Linked DNA regions of Homo sapiens: regions 1 and 3 are each linked to region 2. Evidence: promoter capture Hi-C in 16 types of primary human blood cells and fetal thymus (Javierre and others, 2016). All regions are on one chromosome and are shown on one strand. Each heading gives the region's core, a stretch centred on a gene start or on the middle of the fragment in contact. The rest is flanking DNA. Distances are from core to core; before and after follow the strand shown. Region 1 overlaps DHRSX (dehydrogenase/reductase X-linked). Region 2 holds the start of DHRSX (dehydrogenase/reductase X-linked). Region 3 has its middle 290 kb from the start of DHRSX.

The links. Contacts are between HindIII fragments. The CHiCAGO score rates a contact against its expected background, and 5 or more counts as called.
Region 1: a fragment that was not itself captured here is called in contact with the fragment with the promoter of DHRSX in region 2 in 1 of 17 cell types (neutrophils); the score reaches 8.3 in neutrophils.
Region 3: a contact is called between a fragment that was not itself captured here and the fragment with the promoter of DHRSX in region 2, in 1 of 17 cell types (neutrophils). The highest score is 7.3, in neutrophils.

What each region holds. Positions count from the first base shown.
Region 1 is chrX:2,236,971-2,239,900 of GRCh38, forward strand. All of the region lies in intron 6 of DHRSX (dehydrogenase/reductase X-linked), which reads right to left. Among named protein-coding and RNA genes, the nearest start is that of DHRSX, 260 kb to the right of the region's middle. The HindIII fragment of the contact is 4,297 bases long and covers 1-2,930 here.
Region 2 is chrX:2,499,699-2,502,524 of GRCh38, forward strand. DHRSX (dehydrogenase/reductase X-linked) reads right to left here and starts at 1,278. Exons shown (of 7, transcript NM_145177.3): 1 at 1,119-1,278. The coding sequence starts at 1,227. It overlaps ZBED1 (zinc finger BED-type containing 1), which reads right to left and starts at 1,278. Exons shown (of 2, transcript NM_001171136.2): 1 at 1,119-1,278. The HindIII fragment of the contact is 4,150 bases long and covers 1-2,826 here.
Region 3 is chrX:2,207,752-2,210,653 of GRCh38, forward strand. No RefSeq gene overlaps it. Among named protein-coding and RNA genes, the nearest start is that of DHRSX, 290 kb to the right of the region's middle. The HindIII fragment of the contact is 1,958 bases long and covers 674-2,631 here.

The DNA of each region.
Region 1 (2,930 bases), core at 162-2,661, 260 kb before region 2:
TCGAGACTGTGAGTTCGAGATCAGCCTGAGTAACATATCGAAACCCCGTCTCTACTGAAAATGTAAAAATTAGCCAGGCGTGCTGGGAGGTAGCTGAGGTCCCAGCTACCCAGGAGGATGAGGCCGAATTGCTTGAACCCAGGAGGCGGAGGTTGCAGTGAGCCGAGATCGCACCACTGCACTCCAGCCTGGGCAACAGAGAGAGGTTCCATCTTAAAAAAAATAAAAATAAAAAAATTCCCAGTACCTGCATCCTTGATTTGATTAATTAACCTGTCACCCTCTCGGCACATCAATCCAAGTTCCAATCAACCCTAAGACAGACTTTCATTAGACTGCATGGCGGATACAAATACATGCTTAAGACAAGCAATGATACGAGTGGTCTACTTCATGGTGAAGTGGGCGCAGTCTACACTGCAAATTTGTTCATTTTGATGGCAGGCCTGATCACATGATTTCAAAGTGGTCAGGACTTGCTGGACATGAGCCCTGAATGGTGGAGCTGATACACTCAGCATTTACAATAGCTTTCTATTTTTTTTTTTTTTTGAGATGGAGTTTCGCTCTTGTCGTCCAGGCTGGAGTGCAGTGGCATGATCTGGGCTCACCACAATTTCCGCCCCCGGGTTCAAGCGATTCTCCTGCCTCAGCCTCCTGAGTAGCTGGGATTACAGGTGACTGCCACCACGCCTGGCTAATTTCTGTATTTTTAGTAGAGACTGGGTTTCTCCATGTTGGTTAGGCTGGTCTTGAACTCCTAACCTCACATGATCCTCCCCCTCAGCCTCCCAAAGTGTTGGGATTACAGGCATGAGCCACCACTCCCAGCCGATAGCTCTTTTTTGTAACACCCATTGATCTTGAGACAACTGGGGTGGGAAGAGAGGTAATAGCCACGTTCATTTGCTCCCTAGGAGGGGTATACATTGTAGGGGGTACTGAGTTTCACTGATGAAGCTGCGAGGAGCTTCCTAGAGGTCTGAAGAGCACACATGCCCTCTGAAATACTAAGCTACTCTCCTACGGAGGCTGAGACCATCTGCATGTCTCAGCATGAAGAATGGCCTGATGCATTTGTATACAGGACAAATCAAACCTCTCATCTTTATAAATGCACAAATCATAATCCCAACACTTTGGGAGGCCACAGCAGGAGGATCGCTTGGGGCTAGGAACTGGAGACCCGGCTGGACAACATAGCAAGACCTCGGCTCTACCAAAAAATTTTAAAAAATTAGCCAGGCATGCTGGTGCATTCGTGTAGTCCCAGCTACTCGGGAGGTGGAGGTGGGGTGATCGTTTCAGTCCAGCAGGTCGAGGCTGCTGTGAGCTGTGATTGTACCACTGCACTCCAGCCTGGGTGACAGGGCGAGACCCCATCTCAAAAACAAACCAATCAACCTCCTAGTTTTTCTTCTGGTACCGACTGGTCGCCCAGGTTACTGGCCGTGAATTTGGAATCGAGTCCATGTGTTCTGATGAGACAGAGGATAGAGGTTTCAGAGTGACATACAACCATGCCCTCAGATGATATGAAACATCACAGAGATATGTATGTCACACAGATTCTCCCCAGGGACCCTGGACAGATCCTGCAAGGTTTTTCTTCTTTCTTTTTTTTTTTTTTGAGACGGAGTTTCACTCTTTTCACCCAGGCTGGAGTGCAATGGCGCCATCTCGGCTTACTGCAACCTCCGCCTCCCAGGTTCAAGCGATTCCCCTGCCTCAGCCTCCCGAGTAGCTGGAATGACACACACGCGCCACCACACTCGGCTAATTTTTTTTTTTTTTAATAGAGATGGTGTTTCACCATGTTTGACAGTCTGGTCTCGAACTCCTGACCTCAAGTAATCCACTCACCTTGGCCTCCCAAAGTGCTGGGATTACAGGCATGAGACACGGCACCCAGCTGATCTTCCAAGTCTTAATATACAATGCATGCATGCATGCATGCATACACACTAGTAAATAATACATACACAGCAATACAGAATTATCATTACAAAGACAGCATCAAGCTACTGCAGCTGTATAGCCTTTTCTTTAAAATTCTTACATTATTTTAATTTCATTTCCAGGCTAATGCATATTCTTCTGCTCTATAATTTTAAAGTTTCCACAATGTTGTCTCTTATATAAAGGCAGTATCACTCGAGCAATGCCCCGTGGTTATTTTTAATCCAAATTTGCAGATGATGATCAAAGGATTAAAGAATGATTCATGTGGCTAAAGTTGCAGTTTGCTTGTTAAATATTTAGAAAGAAATAATGTCAAGGCCAGCCATGGTGGCTCATGCCTGTCATCCCAGCACTTTGGGAGGCAGAGGTGGGAGAATCACTTGAGGCCAGGATTTCAAGGTTGCAGCCAGTGATTGTGTCATAATTCCAGCGCACAAGACCAACCTGGGCGAACAGCAAGATGCCGTTTCTACAAAAAAAAAAAAAAATGCACAGCAGCCAGGGTGACAGAGCAAGACCTGGTCTCTAAAAAATTTAAAAGAGGCCGGGCGTGGTGGCTCACGCCTGTAATCCCAACACTTTGAGAGGCCGAGGCAGGTGGATCACGAGGTCAGGAGATCAAGACCATCCTGGCCAACATGGTGAAACCCCGTCTCTACTAAAAAAAAATAAAAAATAAAAAAAAAATTAGCCAGACGTGGTGGCGGGCACCTGTGGTCCCATTTACTCGGGAGGCTGAGGCAGGAGAACGGCATGAACCTGGGAGGCGGAGCTTGCAGTGAGCTGAGATCGCGCCAACGCACTCCAGCCTGGGCAACAGAGCAAGACTCAGTCTCAAAAAAAATAAATAAATTAAATAAAATAAAAAAACAGCAAATGCTCTCCTTGGATACTGAAGTCACTCTCTGAGGGATTCATGGGGGTTTTATAAGGATGAAATGTATCCTAGTGTTGGTGTATTGCTAGCG
Region 2 (2,826 bases), core at 28-2,527:
GAGTTTCAGACCAGCCTGGGCAACGTAGCAAGACCCTATTGCTACACAAAAAAATTAAAACATTAGACAGGTGTGGTGGCTCACACCTGTAATCCCAACAGTTTGGGAGGCAAAGGAAGGAAGATCGCTTGAGCCCAGGAGTTCGAGACCAGCCTGAGCAACATAGCAAGACCCCGTCTACAAAACTTTAAAACATTAGTCGGATGCAGTAGCTGGTGCCTGTAATGCCAGCACTTTGGGAGGCTGAGGCAGGAGGACTGCTTGAGCCCAGGAGTTCGAGAGTAGCCTCGGCAACAGAGCAAGACTTCATCTCTACTTCCTATTACAAAAAATAATAATAATAATAAATTCTGAACCTGCAAATCTAGGAACAGAAGTTATCTGCATACACAAAACACAGTGGCGGTCATCACTGATGAGTTCAGACAGTGAACGAGTCCTGCAAAGTTGGAGATCTGTGACTCAGAGATGTTTACAAAGGCCAAGGAAACAAAGTTGCCACTTAACGGGCCTGCCCTCCCCACCAGACCTCCGTGGCTCCCCAGTGCCCGAGAAGCCGCCTCTGGGCCCCCTCTGGAGACGTCCTCCGGAGAAGGGCCCATCCTCACTTACCCTGGGGTGGGTAGGGGTCGAGGTCCCTGGGACGCCCGCTCCTCCCCTCCGGGGCCTGGCGGGGGCGCGCGGTCACTGGCCGACCGCAGGCGGCAGGCAGAGCCGCCTGATGTCTTGGGCGCGGGGCGTGCGAGCCCCCGGGTCCCCGGCCATGGCCCGGAGGTGTCAGGGTGCGCGGGGGGGCGGCTGCACGGGGGCTGCTTGGTTGGAGCCCGACCCGGGACAGGCGGGGAGGCCACACGCGCGGGGAGGGAAGGGTCGGGCCGGGTCGGGCCGGGCCAGGCGCGCAGAAGAGCCGGCGGGGACGGAAAGCGCGGGGCGGGGAGGTCCCAGCGCGCACGCCGCCCCCCCCCCACCCCCGGCCACACCTCGACCCCCGCCCAGCCCCACTTCCGGGAGCGCCACCGCCTCGCCAAGGTCACGCGGAGCCCCCGCGCCCCCGCCCCCGAGCCAGCCCGCGCCCACCCGGGTCCCCGGAGCCCTGACCCCTGCCCCGCCCCGCTGACCTGGCTCCAGGAAGCCCCCGCGGCAGCGCCGCAGCAGCTGCGCCAGGATCACCGCGGCGCCTACCGCGTAGACCCGCAGGGCCGCCCGCGCCGCAGACAATGGCGACATGGCTGCCCCGGCCGCGCCGCCGCCGCTTCCGCGCCGCCCGCGGGACTCTGCGCCCGCCCGCCCGGACGGACGGCGGAAACGCGCGCGCCCCGGACCGCCCCCTGCCCGCCCCGAACCGCCCCGGCCTGCGGGGAACCCCCAACCCCAGACCCCGCCCGGGCCCTCTGGGATCCCGCACCGCCTGCAGGACTGGGGACCCCGAGCGGACAACCGACCCCAGCCAGGACACCCCCCCCAGGACCACAGACTCCAGCCAGGAACCCCCCCCTGCAAGGACCATAGACTTCAGCCAGGACCCCCCCCCCCAGGACCACAGACCCCAGCCAGGACGCCCCCAGGACCACTGACCCCAGTCAGGACCCCCCCTTCAGGACCACAGACCCCAGCAGGGACCCCCCACACACACCCCCAGCCAGGACCACAGACCCCAGCCAGGAATCCCCCCCAGGACCACAGACCCCAGCAGGGACCCTCCACACCTCCTCCAGGACCACAGACCCCAGCAGGGACCCTTCCCCCTCCCGGCAGGACTGCAGACCCCAGCAGGGATCCCCACCACCACAAGACCAACAGCCCCAGCCAGGACGCCCCCAGGACTACAGACCCCAGCCAGCACCCAAGTCAGATCCATAGACTCCTCCCAAGAACACCCCCCAGGACCCCAGACCCCTGCTGGGACCCCCAAGACCACAGGCCCCCCCACTGGGGCACGCCCAGACACCCCACCAAGAACCCCACCAGGACTACAGACCTCCACCAGGACTCCCCAGTACCACAGATCCTCCCAGGGCCCCCCAGGACCACAGACCTCCACTGGGACCCCCACCACCAGGACCCCTCTCCAGGATCACAGACCCCTACTGGGGCCCCCTTCTAGGACCTCCACCTCCATCACAACCACCCCCCGGACCACAGGCCCCAGCCAGCACCCCACAAGACCACAGACCCCTGCCAGGACGCCCCCCAGGACTACAGACCCCAGCTGGACTGCCTCTCCAAGACCCCACACTCCAGCCAAGACCATGGAACCCCATTCAAGCCCCAGCCAGGACCCCCACCATGGGATCACAGATCCCCTACCCAGACCCTGCAGGGGACCAGGACCACCACGGGAACCACCCTCCCCATCTTAGCCAGAATCATGTAACCCCACGCAGACCTCAGCAGGGACCACAAGGACTTGGACCCCATAGGGAACCCCAGACAACCACCCAGAGCCATGCCAGGATTATGGACCAGGACTCCCACAGAGGACTCTGAACAGCTGTAAGGACCATGGACCCCACACCCTAATTCGTACTGACACCACAGAACCTGCCCCAAGCACGGACCCCACACCCCAGTTCCTGCTGACACCACAGAACCTGCCCCAAGCACGGACCCCACACCCCAGTTCCTACTGAGACCACAGACCCCACCCCAATTCCTGCCAGGCCACAGACACCACCCACCAAACCTACCCCTCCACTTCCCTGCCCCCAACAACCCTGCAGGGATCACAGACCCCCTTCCCGGCCCCTGCAGAGAACTCCAGACTACTTCAGGGACCACGAGCCCCCTCCCCACCCTGATCCCTACTGGGACAGCAGACCCCTACTC
Region 3 (2,902 bases), core at 403-2,902, 290 kb before region 2:
GTTTCGCCATGTTGGTCAGGCTGGTCTCGAACTCCAGACCTTGTGATTCGCCTGCCTCGGTCTCCCCAAAGTGCAAAAATTTTTTTTTAATTGCATACGATGAAATACTTGCAAACACACCCACACCCACATACAACTAAAAGAGAAAATCTGAAAAGGCGGCCGGGTGCGGTGGCTCAGGCCTGTATTCCCCAGCACTTTGGGAGGCCAAGGCAGGCGGATCACGATGTCAAGAGATCGAGACCATCCTGGCCAACATGGTGAAACCCCATCTCTACTAAAAATACGAAAATTAGCCTGGCATGGTGGGGCTCACCTGTAGTCCCAGCTACTCAGCAGGCTGAGGTAAGAGAATCGCTTGAACCCGGGAAGCGGAGGTTGCAGGGAGCCGAGATCTCGCCACCACACTCCAGCTTGGTGATGGAGTGAGACTCCATCTGAAGAAAAAAAAAAAGAAAAGAAAATCTGAAGAAGCAGGTCAGATTGTATCAATGTCCGTATCTGGTTGAGCGATTTACTGGAGTTTTGCAAGATGTTCTAATTGCAGGAAGGTTGGTAAAGGTACATGGGATGACTCTGTACTACCTCTTACAACTGCATGTGAATTTACACATCTTTGCATACAATTTATGTGTTAGTTCAGGCTGCTGGGATAAAACACCATAGAGTCGGAAGCTTAAACTGTTAACATTCCTGTATCCCACTTCTGGAGGCTGGAGGTCTGAGACAAGGGTGCCAGTATGGTTGGTTCCTGGTGAGAACTCTCTTCTTGGCCTCCTTTTTCTTTGTTTTTAATTTTTTTTTTTATTATACTTTAAGTTCTGGGGTACATGTGCAGAACGTGCAGGTTTGTTACGTAGGTATACACGTGCCATGGTGGTTTGCTGCACCCATCAACCTGTCATCTACATTAGGTATTTCTCCTAATGCTCTCCCTCCCCTATCCCCCCACCCCCTGACAGGCCCTGGTGTGTGATGTTCCCCTCCTTGTGTCCATGTGTTCTCATTGTTCAACTTCCACTGATGAGTGAGAACATGCAGTGTTTGGTTTTCTGTTCTTGTGTTAGTTTGCTGAGAATGATGGTTTCCAGCTTCATCCCTGTCCCTGCAAAGGACATGAACTCATTCTTTTTTCTGGCTGCATAGTATTCCATAGTGCATATGTGCCACATTTTCTTTATCCAGTCTATCATTGATGGGCATTTCGGTTGGTTCCAAGTCTTTGCTATTGTGAACAGTTGGCTGCCTTTTTCCTGTGTGCTCACAAGGCAGTGGGACAGTGAGCTCACTCTGAGCTCATCATCCTTTTATAAGGGCAGGAATCTCATGCATGAGGCTCCATCCCTCATTAGGCTCCACCCTCATGACACCATCACCTCCCAAAGCCTCCACTTCCTAACGCCACCCCCTTGGGGGGGGGTGACAATTTCTACAAAAGAATTTGGAAGGACACCAATGTTCGGTCGATAGCAGTAGTCAATTAAAAATAGGAGATGATATAAAAAGATGTTAATATCTAATTGTCAGTGGATTTGTGAACTATCTGATGGTAAATATCAGATAAAAGATAGTTAAGGATAGAACATCAAAGAACCAAAGCTAAATCTATTTTTTTTTTTTTTGAGACAGAGTTTCGCTCTTGTTGCCCAGGCTGGAGTGCAGTGGTGTGATCTCAGCCCACCGCAACCTCTACCTCCCAGGTTCATGCGATTCTCCTGCCTCAGCCTCCCAAGGAGCTGGGATGCTAAATCTTTTACAGTAATAATAATAAAATAACAAACTAATAAGAGAAGCATTACACCAAGAAGACAGTATAATCATGAACCTGTAGGTCTCTAGTACTGCAGCCCCAAAATATCTAAAGCAGAGAGTGACAGAGATTTCCAGAACTCTCTCTACAAAAGACAGGATAAATACATTACATTTCATAACATGATTAAAATTTCAATTTATAGAAATTTCAATTTATAGAAACATAAGTCTATAAAACCATAAGTCTGTAAAACCAGGAGATCGTGACCATCCTGGCTAACACGGTGAAACCCCATCTCTACTAAAAATACAAAAAAATTAGCCGGGCATGGTGGCAGGTGCCTGTAGTCCCCACTACTCGGGAGGGTGAGGCAGGAGAATGGCATGAACCCAGAGGCGGAGCTTGCAGTGAGCTGATATCGTGCCACTGCTCTCCAGCTTTAGGGAGAGAGCAAGGCTCTGTCTCAAAAAAAATAAATAAATAAAAAATAAAAAGGCAAAAAAAAATCACTAATTTTAATTCTACACCTTTGGAAATATTAAAATACCCTCTTCATCCATTGGTCAAATCAGGCAAAATGAAAACAACGACTTCATTCTAAGTCTATGAAATGCAGCCCCAGGGGTCAGGAAAAAAATGAGTTCACAATACATTTGTTACGATTAGAAGGAAGAAAACAAACAAACAAAAAAAGATGGCATGTGTCGAGGCAAGAAAATAGACAACATATTCCAGAATGAAGGCAAAGAATTATAAGAGGATAAAACAGCAGTAACTAAAAATGATAAGTAAGCGATAAACACAATGATGAGTAAAATGTCTATTCCTGAATCCGAGACGGTGCTTCACAAAGACAGCTTCAGAGGCCACAATTCCAAAGCTTTTTTCTACGTACAGATATTCTCCCCGATGCCTGGGTTAATGGCGCCCGAACTGCAGAAAACATAACCTCAACCGAGTTTTCTGCTTCAATGACAAATGACACCAGAGCCCCACCACCAAACCATGGCTGGCATCTATTTAGTTCTGAGCACTGCTCTGACAGAATGCATCAGTCTTGCTTTGCTCTCAGCAAAACTGGGTGCAGAGGGGACGGCTGTTAGCCTGGTCGTTGCTAATGAGGAGATGAGGAGTTGGAAAGATAGAGAC